4 separate regions of the Homo sapiens genome follow, and all the other regions are linked to region 3. The links are contacts of gene promoters, found by promoter capture Hi-C in human tissues and cell types (Jung and others, 2019). All regions are on one chromosome and are shown on one strand. Each heading gives the region's core, a stretch centred on a gene start or on the middle of the fragment in contact. The rest is flanking DNA. Distances are from core to core; before and after follow the strand shown. Region 1 overlaps COPG1 (coat protein complex I subunit gamma 1). Region 2 has its middle 26 kb from the start of RPN1. Region 3 holds the start of EFCC1 (EF-hand and coiled-coil domain containing 1). Region 4 overlaps HMCES (5-hydroxymethylcytosine binding, ES cell specific).

Region 1 (2,700 bases), core at 47-2,546, 260 kb before region 3:
GCCTGTAATCCCAGCACTTTGGGAGGCCGAGGCGGGCGGATCATGAGGTCAGGAGTTCGAGAACAGCCTGGCCAATATGGTGAAACCCCATCTCAACTAAAAATACAAAAATTAGCCAGGCGTGGTGGTGGGCGCCTGTAGTCCCAGCTACTCGGGAGGCTCAGGCAGGAGAATCGCTTGAACCTGGGAGGCAGAGGTTGCAGTGAGCTGAGATCGCACCACTGCACTCCAGCCTGGGCGACATAGTGAGACTCCGTCTCAAAAAGCAAAAACAAAAAACAGCAAACGGCAAACAACAAACATGTTGCCTTCTAAGCAATTTGTCTAGATCACACATTTTCTGGCTATATAACCCTATGTAATAGGCATGATCTATCATCCACATCTGAGAAAAGAAAAGGAAGGCATGGAGAGGATGGGCGGCCTTGCCAGGCTTGCCCAGTTGGTAAGGGGCAGAGCCAGGGCTCTAACCCAGGCTGCCCTGCTCCAGTGCTGGAGCTGGAGGCTCAGAACGACCCTCTATACTGTTCTCTCCTTCACCTGGAAAAGTGCAGCCCCACTTCACATGCACCAGTTTCACAGATCCTGGGTTCCTCCACCAGGCCTCCTCCTGTGGCCAGCCAACCTGACAGGCTCCAGAGTGGACCCGAGCCTTACCTCAGCCTCTTCAGCAGTCAGATGGAACTAACAGCAGCCCACCACCAAAACGTGATACAAGTGGGGACTCAGCATAGTGTCTGGGGCAGGTGCTTCCTAGGTACAGACTCCTTAACACTTGTTAAGAGCATTTTCTTTCTTTCTCCTAGCCCGGGAACCCAGGCCTAGTTCCCAGCAAGCATAAACATGTGAGGCTGGGTGAAGGAATGCCCAGTGACCTGACACAGCCGGGGCCAGCTCTTTGGCACTGCAGCCTGGCAGATTGACGATGGCCGAGGCGGCTTCATACACCACCATCTCGTGCTTGTTGCGCAAGCAGCTCTCGATGAAGTCAAACAGTGGGCTGTCACGGCTACAAAAGAACATAGGGTGGCAAGAAAACGTTGGGGGTGGCCCAGCATGGTAGGATGAGTGAGGCATCATCTAGCTGGTGAGAGATGAGAGCCGTTACCTGCCATCCTCCTCTTCCAGCTGCTTGCTGGCCACCCGGATCATCATGCAGTAGGCAAAGGGAGACTTAAGGCCATGCCGTGTGACCTTGCTGATCATCTTATTGACGGCTAGGCGGTCATTCTTACGCACATGGTACAGGAGCCCTAGTGCGTGGTACTATAGGACAGGAGACAGCAACAGAGTACAAATGTATGACTTTTGGGTATACTGGCTGTGTGGCCCTGGGTGGGTCCTTCAGCCTTCTCATTTCTAAGATGGGCACAGTAGCAGCTACCACACAGAGTGGCTGTGACAACTGCCCCAGGTACTCTGTGTACACAGCCCTCCACACAATGCTTCACAAACCACAGAAGTATATCTGTGGTTCTTGTTCCCACCCCTGCTTCGGCAAGAGCCCTAACAGGTAGCATAAATACAGATATGGAAAGGGACAACAAACAGCACAAAGATGAAAGCAATGTGGGAGACCTGGTGCTTTCAATCAGACAATGAGAGAGAGAAGGTGGGAGCCAGACCCTGAGCATTGTCATGTTTTGTAAGTCACTGTGTGGGACACCTTAGCCATGAAATCTTGCATTACCCACAACAACCCTGAAGGTAGACAGTTTAATCTTTGCTGACTTGCCCAAAGACTCCTGGCTGGTACTGACAAAGCTAGGCCTGGAGGGCCAGAAGCCCAGAGACTCCCTTTCTAAAGATGTGAGGTCTCATAGTTATTTCCTGTCCTCGATACTCTCTTTTGTTTCCTAAAGGAGCGACATTTGGGGGCAAAGATATGGCAGCTGTGGAAGCCTTCTATGTGGGAAGCTTATCTGGCCCTCATAAGTGTTTTGAGGGGCCACAGCTGGCCCTGAAGACAAGAATCGTGCAAAGGATGAGAAGACAGATGAGAGATAAAGGGAATACATAAACACACAGGGAGCGCCGATAGGCACTCATGACCCAGATGGGTCACATGTTACATGCATGATCTCAGCTCGTCCTTGCTGCTTTGTGAGGCAGTAACCTTCATTCGTATTTTACAGACAAGGAAACCAAGAGCCAGAGAGATAAAAGGAACGGCTGTCCTAGGTCACTGAGGAAGAGTAAAGTGGATGAAAGCCTCATCAAGATAATTCCACACATCATAACAAAGCCAGGCTGGCAAAGGCCTAAATTTAGGCGGCCCTCTGCCTGCCTTGGCCAAGTTTGCCACATCATATGCTCCAAAACAATACTCAGCTGGTTATCAAAATACTTGAATATTTCAGCACCAGCTGGTAAGCAGTCTGTAACCCAAGCGCCCCAAGTGGTACCCTGGATTCTCTAACCCAGGACCTCCTAATTCCTCCCATGATCCAATGACGAAAGGATTAAAGCCTGCTATGGCCAGGGGTCACAAGGATCTCGGTGGCAAGTGTCCATGCCAACTGGCCAGTGCCTTACCACCTGCCTGAGTGTTTTAAATATCACTCCCTTGCTCACATCTCACCTGGACCATGATGTTATCACTGGATGCTGCCTCCTGAGCCTCATTCACCCAGCGCTTGACCACGTCAAAGCTGCACTTCAGCAGGTGCTGTGGGCAACAGGACACATTAAGGGGCAGGT
Region 2 (2,700 bases), core at 16-2,515, 320 kb after region 3:
CTGTTTGAATGGCAAAAGCATGGAAGCAAACTAATTGTTCATAAATAGGGGACTGGCTTGATTTTTGAAAAATGACACATCAAGCCTGAGCAACATGGTGAAACGCTGTCTCTACAAAAAATACAAAAATGAGCTGGGCGTGGTGGCAGGCACCTGTAGTCCCAGCTACTCAGGAGGCTGAGGCAGGAGGATCACTTGAGCTGCAGAGGCAGAGGTTGCAGTGAGTGGAGATCGCACTACTGCACTCCAACCTGGGTGACAGAGTGACACCACATCTCAAAAAAAAAAAAAAGACACATTTGTTTAACAGGAATTCTATGCAGCCCCTCCTACAAAATAAAGTAGTACTGTTGTAGAATAAGCTCCAAGATTTATCACATATAATTATAATTATGACTGTGGCTGCAAATAACAATGTAGCCTTCTATAGTGCAAATAACAATGCAAATTACATTGCAAATAACAATGTAGCCTTCTATAGTGGCTTAAACAGACAAGGGTTAATCTGTCTCAAGCAATAAGTAGCAATAAGGGCAGGCACATCTGAGTCTTGTATGGGGCATTGGTGTGTTGTCAGGAATGCAGACTCTTTTTCTTTTTAAAATTTCAAAAGCCTTAAGAAGGTCACAGTGGCACATGCCTGTAGTCCCAGCTACTCAGAAGGCTGAGGCAGGAGGATCGCTTGAGCCCAGGAGTTCCAGGCTGTAATGAGCCATGATCATGCCTGTGAATAGCCACTGCACTCCAGCCTGGGCAACATAGCAAGACCTCATTTCTAAAACAACTTTTTTTAAAATTTAAAAACTTTTTGCCTCATTTCACCAGATCCCTGGCTTGGGGAGCCTTCCTTCCCCATGGTGGGACACCTGGCTTTGGATTTCACCTTCTTGCCCCTTCCAGGTGGTGGAGGTAATGGGTCAGCGGGGCGGGAGCTGGACTTGGCTAAGCTTCCAAGGCAGGAATTGGGCCGGGTGTTGGGCCAGGCTCTGAGATGTGGGGGTTTCTCCCGTGCCCCCCACTGCATGAGTTCCGTGGGCAGATGGTATACTCTGGGTCTCCGGTTGCAGTGGGGCTAGTGCCCCAAGGTGGCTTGAAGACCTCTCAGCCTGAGGGCGAGGCAGGAGCCTGGGTGGAGAGCAACTGTGAGGGGCCTCCCTGGAGCCTTGCACTGCCCCAGCTGGTGCCATGAAGCTAGAGAAGGAGAAGCTGGAGCAAAACCTCAACGAGTCCCAGGACATCAAAGCTCTGTAATTTGCCAAGCTCCTGAAGCAGAAGAGGATCACCCTGGGATATATCCAGGCCCGTGTGGGGCTCACCCTGGGGGCTCTTTTTTTAAATGTTTATTTATTTGTTTATTTATTTTTGAGACAGGGTCTCACTCTGTTGCCCAGGCTGGAGTGCAGTGGCGTGACCTTCGCTCACCACAACCTCTTGTTGTGCCCAGGGGTGTTAGAGAGAACGCCACACTTTGAGACGATTTAAGAGTCCTTTATTAAGCCGGCGGCCAAAGAGACGGCTAACGCTCAAAATTCTCTTGGCCCCGAGGAAGGGGGTTGATTAACTTTTATACCTAGGTTTAGGAAGGGGAGGGGAACTCAAATGCAATAATTCTACAGAAGTAAAAACATGCAAGAATAAAAAAAAAATGGTTACAAAGAGATAAACAATTTAAAAGACAAATGGTTACAAGAAGAGCAACGGTACCAGGTGCAAGGCTTTAAACCTTTATTATAATTAGATATAGGGGGTATGCCGGACAGGAACTCAAGGCTTTATGTTGTTATCTCTTTGAGAAAAATCCTGGGAACTTCATACATTGTTGGTGCTAGTACCTTATCAGTTAATTGGGCTACTTTGAAATGCTGAGGATCTGCTTACACAGGTTAACTCCTTGCGGAAGGGGGTTGGGTAAGGAGCCCTTAGTATCTTGTAAATTAAGGGGTCAATTGGAGTTTGTCTGGCTTTCCCAGCTAGAGAGAGTCTTATTTACATGAGAAGCAAGGCTAGGTGATTAAAGAGACAAGCAGGATAAAATTCAAAGTAACGAGTTAGAGTAAAAACAAGGTTAGGCGTTTCACTCTGCCTCCTGGGTTCAAGCGATTCTCGTGCCTCAGCCTCCCAAGTAGCTGGGATTACATGCATGTGCCACTATGCCCAGCTAATTTTTGTATTTTTAGTAGAGACGGGGTTTCTCCATGTTACAGGCCAGGCTGGTCTTGAACTTCTGACTTCCCACCTTGGCCTCCCAAAGTGCTAGGATTACAGAAGTGAGTCACCATGCCCAGCCTCTGGGGGGTTCTATTTGGGAAGGTGTTCAGCCAAATGACCATCAGCTGCTTTGAGGCTCTGCAGCTCAGTTTCAAGAACATGTGTAAGCTGCCTCCCTTGCTGCAGAAGTGGGTGGAGGAAGCAGCCAACAATGAAGAGCTTCAGGAGATATGCAAAGCAGAGACCCTCAGGCAGGCCGAAAGAACAAGAACCCGGGCCAGTCGCGGTGGCTCACACCTGTAATCCCAGCACTTTGGGAGGCCGAGGCGGGAGGATCACGAAGTCAGGAGATCGAGACCATCCTGGCTGACAAAGTGAAACCCTGTCTCTACTAAAAATACAAAAAAAAATTAGCCGGGTGTGGTCACGGGCACCTGTAGTCCCAGCTACTCAGGAGGCTGAGGCGGGAGAATTGCCTGAACCCGGAAGGCG
Region 3 (2,700 bases), core at 125-2,624:
AAAGATGCTTGTTGAAAGGGAATATGTGAGACTACCCAGACAGGTGCAATTCCTAGGTTAAAGGGGCAAGACGCGATGATGTGGCGGTGGAGCAGAAAAGTGGGGTATGGTTGTTTGAGTGTGATTGGGGTTTTCAGGAATGGAATAGGTGGTAAGAATAGGGTTGGGGACTGGAGTGGAATGGGGAGGAACAGGGGCAAGATGCAAGTGTGCTGATGCGGAGTGGGATGGTGTGGGGCTGCCCTCTGTCTCCCCTTCCTCTGACTCTGTCCTGTCGGGCTCCGCAGCCAGCCAGCTTTTAGTTCGAGCCCTCTCCCGGGCGTTACCACCCTCCCTTCGTGGCCGGCGCGCACCTGCAGTGCTAGGCAGCGCGCATCACTGCTCTGCAGCGCGGCGCGCAGGTCCTCCACCAACTCGCGCAAGCTGCTATTCTCCTCCTCCAGCCGCGCAACGCGCTCACAGTCAGGACCGCTGTCGGGGCCAGGCGCGCAGGGCGGGCGGCGGCGGCGGCGCGGACGGCGCAGGCGGATCTGCGTCTCGATGTGCTCGCTGAGAGCGCCGCGGGGCAGCCGGGGCCCCGCACGGGTGCCGAAGTAGCCACAGAGGCGCGCGTGGAACTGGCGGAAGGTGAGCTCCGGCGGCTCGGCGCGCAGCGCCAGGCGCGCCTCTTCATCGGTATCTGAGTCCCCGTCCGTGGCCAACTCAGCGGCCGCATCCCCGGGGGTCACATCTCTGGAGTTCCCGTCACCTGCTGCCTGCCCGGCCGTGGTGGCCCCCTCCGCGCGCAGCCCCAGCACAGCGCAGAGCGCTCGGAAGTCGGCGCGGGGCAGACGGCCGGCGCCGCGGCAGTCCAGGTGGTGGAAGACCTCCTGCAGGTACTGGTCCAGGCCGGTGGCCAGCACCACGATCTCGTTCTCCACGCCGCGGTCCAGCCCGTAGTGGTGCGCCAGGGCGCTCAGCAGCCACTGCGTGCGCCGCGCAGGTCGCCGGTACGGGTCACCTCCCGCGCCCTCCATGCCGGCCTCCGCGCCCGTGCTGACCGGCTCCATCGCTGCGCCGCGCGCCTCGCTCCTCCGGTCCCTCCTCCGGTCCCTTCGCCCCGCCACTTCCAGGGGCGGCCCCAGAGTTTCTCGAAAGGAGGGGCTTAGCGGTCGCGGTCTGGTTGGAGCGGCGCCGGGGACCGTGTCCAGCAGCTGCGCTGGCCTCACAGTGCGTCTGGTTTACCCCAGTTGCTTTGGAGGGGCCTGGGGTAGGGGGTCCAGGAACCCCCGGGACCCCGGCAGCGCCACCAGTGCCCGGTCGGCGTCTGGGTCTGGCTTCTCCGCGTGACTCCCACGCTCTCCTCTCCTCACTCACGGGGCGTTCCTGGCGTCTGCGCTTTTCCTCCCACTCCCGGCCGTCCACTCTCAACTCCCTCCTCCCTCCGCCCCGCCCGCCTGGCGCGGAGAGTTCGCTCCGAGACCTGGGCGAGGGGTTGGCGCGGGATCCGAAGCCCAGGAGGGCCTTGGGGGTGGCGGCCTCGTCCGGTTGCTGGGGATGTGCCCCCACACCCAAGCGTCACTCTTCCCCCTCTTCCCGGAAGGCCTTTCGAGGGTTGCCTGGCAAGCCTGCTCTCGCCGCCCTGTAGCCGTAGGTGCGGAAAAGCCTCCCCTCCGCTTCAATTCAGCTACTGGGTTTCCGAACCCACTTCTTGTGCCACCATAGACCGTGCAAAGAGCCCCAAGTAGTAACTGGGAAAGAGAGGGAAACAGGCTTGGAGAGGCAAGGGGTCTAGGTTAGGGGCACCCCGCTGGTGAGAAGCCCATCTGAGACGAGCCCTGTGCTAACTGCTCTCTCCCGATCCCTGTTGGGGGTGGGGATAGGACTCTCGGGAAAGTGGTGTCTCCCGGCCCTGCCACCTTTGTGCCTGCCGGTGCTGACTTGGCAATGGGATCCGAGTTCCATCTCTTGAGCTGGGGTTAGGTTAACAGGTCGATGATTGGCTGATGTTTTTTTCTGGTGTTTTAGAACACATTTCTGGAAGATGAAGAAAAACCTGCTTCTCTGGTGAGTGCTAGACTGTGTTCCCTTTCTTTTTCACGAGAGGGGTGCAGTGATATTGTGATATTGTCCACCTGTTACCTGCACCGGGAACGGTTATCCAGCCACGGTACCCAGCCATGTTGGAGCAAGAGGCAGACTCTTCAGCTGTTCCTAGCTATGACAGAGACAGAATCTTGCCTTGTGGATAACTCTGTGAGTTTAAATGTAAAATCTTGCCGTTTGAAAAGCGATAGCATTCTGTCTCCTCTGCCACAGTATCCCAGAATCAGCACGTTGTCCATTTGGCAAATTCGTACTTGTTCTTGAAGGCTTTGCCCAGAGTACATATCTGCTGGGAAGGAGTTAGAGGCTTCTCCCCAAGCATTTTGGACATATTCTTTTAGGTTTGTTTTTAATTATAAAAGTAATGGCAATTTGACAAAGTTTTTACATCACGTCCACTTCTTGGCTTCTACCTTCGAAAGCCACTGTGCACAGGATGTTCACTGCATCATTGTTTATTACAGTGAGAAACTGGAGACAACCTGGTGTCCATCAAATCAGCTAGGACTCAGCAAACGAGGATGAGCGGACACAGCAAGCCACAAGCTGATTATGCACAACACTGATGCTTACATAACAAGAACAAAAACACACAAAACAATACTAAGTATTTTC
Region 4 (2,700 bases), core at 20-2,519, 300 kb before region 3:
ATAAAAAATTTTACATAACCTTCCTTCCACAACTTCACAATAACTCATGAGATGCATTTCTTCCAACACTCACTTCCACAAGCAACAAGCAAACTTCAGGTCTTGTCGAGGTAAAGTGCCATATTTATTGTAGTATGTATGTATGTATGTATTTATTGAGATGGAATCTCACTCTGTCACCCAGGCTGGGGTGCAGTGGCACGATCTTGGCTCACTGCAAGCTCCACCTCCCGGGGTCACACCATTCTCTTGCCTCAGCCTCCCATGTAGCTGGGACTACAGGAGCCCGCCACCATGCCCGGCTAATTTAGTTGTTGTATTTTTAGTAGAGACGGGGTTTCACCGTGTTAGCCAGGATGGTCTCGATCTCCTGACCTCGTGATCCACCCACCTCAGCATCCCAAAGTGCTGGGATTACAGGCGTGAGCCACCGTGCTCAGCCTGTAGTATTTATTTATTTCTTAACCACCTAACATGTATAAAACAGTGCTACTGTTTTATTAGGTTTCCATTATTTTTTTAATGTGTCACTGACAACATTTTAAGTGTTGTCTCCTTAACCCCACTTTTCCCCTAAGTTATTTGGTTTTTATTCTATCGTTTTGCATAGTACAGTGATTTTTAGGAATGTATGTCATGTTAGAGTCAAACTGATTGTAACTTTACGTTGTAAAATGACTTGGTTTCCTACTCTCTAAAGCTACCTAAAAGCAGAGGACAAATCATCTTTTGGATCCTTTTGGATCCAGGGCTAAGAAGTATGACTTGCCTGTGGTGGATGTCACTCAAGCCTTTGCAGGAATCCACTGTGATGATGGTATAGGAATACAGGACATCTCCTCCCTCTGGGGGCTCCCAGCAGTCAAAGATCCCGGCCATTGTCAGCAGCCTCCAGTTGTCCCAGACTTTCTCCCAGTTCTCAGGACTATCTGCAGCACCAATGCTACCTGACTGGAAGCAAAATATATGGGCAGATTAGATGCACTCAGCAGACTTCTTCTACATGCAGGTTAGGTACTACTTCAGACTCGAGAGCACGGAAATCATTTTAAAAGTAATTCAGCCCACGTCTTATTAACCCCTCTGTCACCAAAGGAAAGAAGGTTGGTGGCAAATGCCAACTGAAGCTATAGATTCATGGCTCCTTAATACTTTCAGAATTTAACACCTTCACTGGACATTTAGGCCTTCCGTGAACTGGCCCACCATTCTAGCTATTACTTACATTGTTAATTTGAACCCAAACCAGCTGTTGGTAAATGAAGCTCTCATGCAATTTCATGCTCCTGTGTCTTGCTGAAGCAACCTTCCTCTGCCCAAAATGTCCTTCCCACCCTTTCTTAATTGAATTGAATTTCATGCCAATTCCTAATTGCCATTCAAAATTCAATTCAAGGACTAAAATGTAGAAAGCTGGAAAGAACGTCACTTCTATTCTAACAATAAGAAAAAAGCTGGATAATATGCAAAATTATAACTTTTCTTAAACTCATCAGAGAGGTAAGTCGATCAATTTCCCTGAAATTTAAGAAAAGACAAGGTCCTCCAAGGGGCAATGGGACACAAGTACTGGCTTATTGGCAGCATCAGGAGGGAGACACAAGCCTTCATACAACCAGGTTAAGAATTCAGATAATGTTATTATCACATTTCTACAAGCAGCGTACAGGCTAGCAGGATAGTACAGAATCCCTAGGAGCTGCAAACCTCAGAGGAGTTTGCACCAGCTCACAGGCTTTTCTCCTTGGACTTTGCCAGTGCTCGAAAAAGACGGCACAGGGCAGGAGCCTGGAGGAAGCCATCCTCACTGTTGAATACCTTAAAGGCAAGCTCCTCTGCCTCACCTAATCACTTTTCCCCTAAGGAGCAAAAGTCTTAAGCTGCCAGGGAAACGGTAATAATAATAATCCCTGTCACGCCTAGGAATCAGGTAAAGACCCACAGAGGCTGGGGAAGGAGAAAAAGAAAAAGCCCCCTACGCCCTGGGGAAGACTGAGTCAGAGAGCCACATCTGCTTAAGATAGACTGAACGGAGAACTGCCTCCACCCGTTTAGCCGACAAACATTAAGTGACAAGCAGAAGCAGTCTACTTCTGGAAGAGGGAAAAGGGCACAAGAAAGACCATGTCTAAGGCACAGGCTCACAGGAAAATCCAACAACTGAAGAGAGGAGGGCTGCTGAGAAACCCTCTGGAAAGTCAATCCTTACCCTAAACACTGGATAACACCAGAGCACTTGAAAGCCTGTGTCAAACAAAGGCACTGTAGCCTGGTCGTGGTGGCTCATGCCTGTCATCCCAGCACTTTGGGAGGCCGAGGCAGGCGGATCACGAGGTCAGGAGATCGAGACCATCCTGGCTAACACGGTGAAACCCCGTCTCTACTAAAAATACAAAAAATTAGCTGGGCCTGGTGACGGGCGCCTGTAGTCCCAGCTACTCGGGAGGCTGAGGCGGAGCTTGCAGTGAGCCGAGATCGCACCACTGCACTCCAGCCTGGGCAACAGAGGGAGACTCTGTCTCAAAAACAAAAACAAAAACAAAACAAAGGCACTGTAATGAGAACAAAGCCCAAACCCAGTTCAATTCCTGACAAGACTGACTTAACCCCATATATTAATGGCCTAATAGAAGAATTTCCAGACATAAATATTATTAATCTCAGTCTCTGTCCTACATATCATCTCTGGCAACAATAAAA

The links. Contacts are between HindIII fragments. The study calls those that stand out against the background at their distance.
Region 1: a contact is called between a fragment that was not itself captured here and the fragment with the promoter of EFCC1 in region 3, in 1 of the 25 tissues and cell types used here (bladder).
Region 2: a fragment that was not itself captured here is called in contact with the fragment with the promoter of EFCC1 in region 3 in 1 of the 25 tissues and cell types used here (aorta).
Region 4: a fragment that was not itself captured here is called in contact with the fragment with the promoter of EFCC1 in region 3 in 2 of the 25 tissues and cell types used here (bladder and small bowel).

The regions. Positions count from the first base shown.
Region 1 is chr3:129,256,036-129,258,735 of GRCh38, reverse strand. COPG1 (coat protein complex I subunit gamma 1) reads right to left here. Exons shown (of 24, transcript NM_016128.4): 8 at 2,582-2,668; 9 at 1,109-1,266; 10 at 876-1,009. Among named protein-coding and RNA genes, the nearest start is that of COPG1, 7.8 kb to the right of the region's middle. The HindIII fragment of the contact is 5,686 bases long and covers 1-2,700 here.
Region 2 is chr3:128,675,160-128,677,859 of GRCh38, reverse strand. It overlaps the pseudogene POU5F1P6. Among named protein-coding and RNA genes, the nearest start is that of RPN1, 26 kb to the right of the region's middle. RefSeq lists an enhancer at 2,455-2,524. The HindIII fragment of the contact is 6,212 bases long and covers 1-2,700 here.
Region 3 is chr3:128,999,978-129,002,677 of GRCh38, reverse strand. EFCC1 (EF-hand and coiled-coil domain containing 1) reads right to left here and starts at 1,374. Exons shown (of 8, transcript NM_001377500.1): 1 at 354-1,374. The coding sequence starts at 1,049. It also overlaps a transcript of CFAP92 not described here. The HindIII fragment of the contact is 14,506 bases long and covers 1-2,700 here.
Region 4 is chr3:129,296,605-129,299,304 of GRCh38, reverse strand. HMCES (5-hydroxymethylcytosine binding, ES cell specific) reads right to left here. Exons shown (of 7, transcript NM_020187.3): 5 at 770-951. Among named protein-coding and RNA genes, the nearest start is that of H1-10-AS1, 18 kb to the left of the region's middle. The HindIII fragment of the contact is 3,505 bases long and covers 1-2,700 here.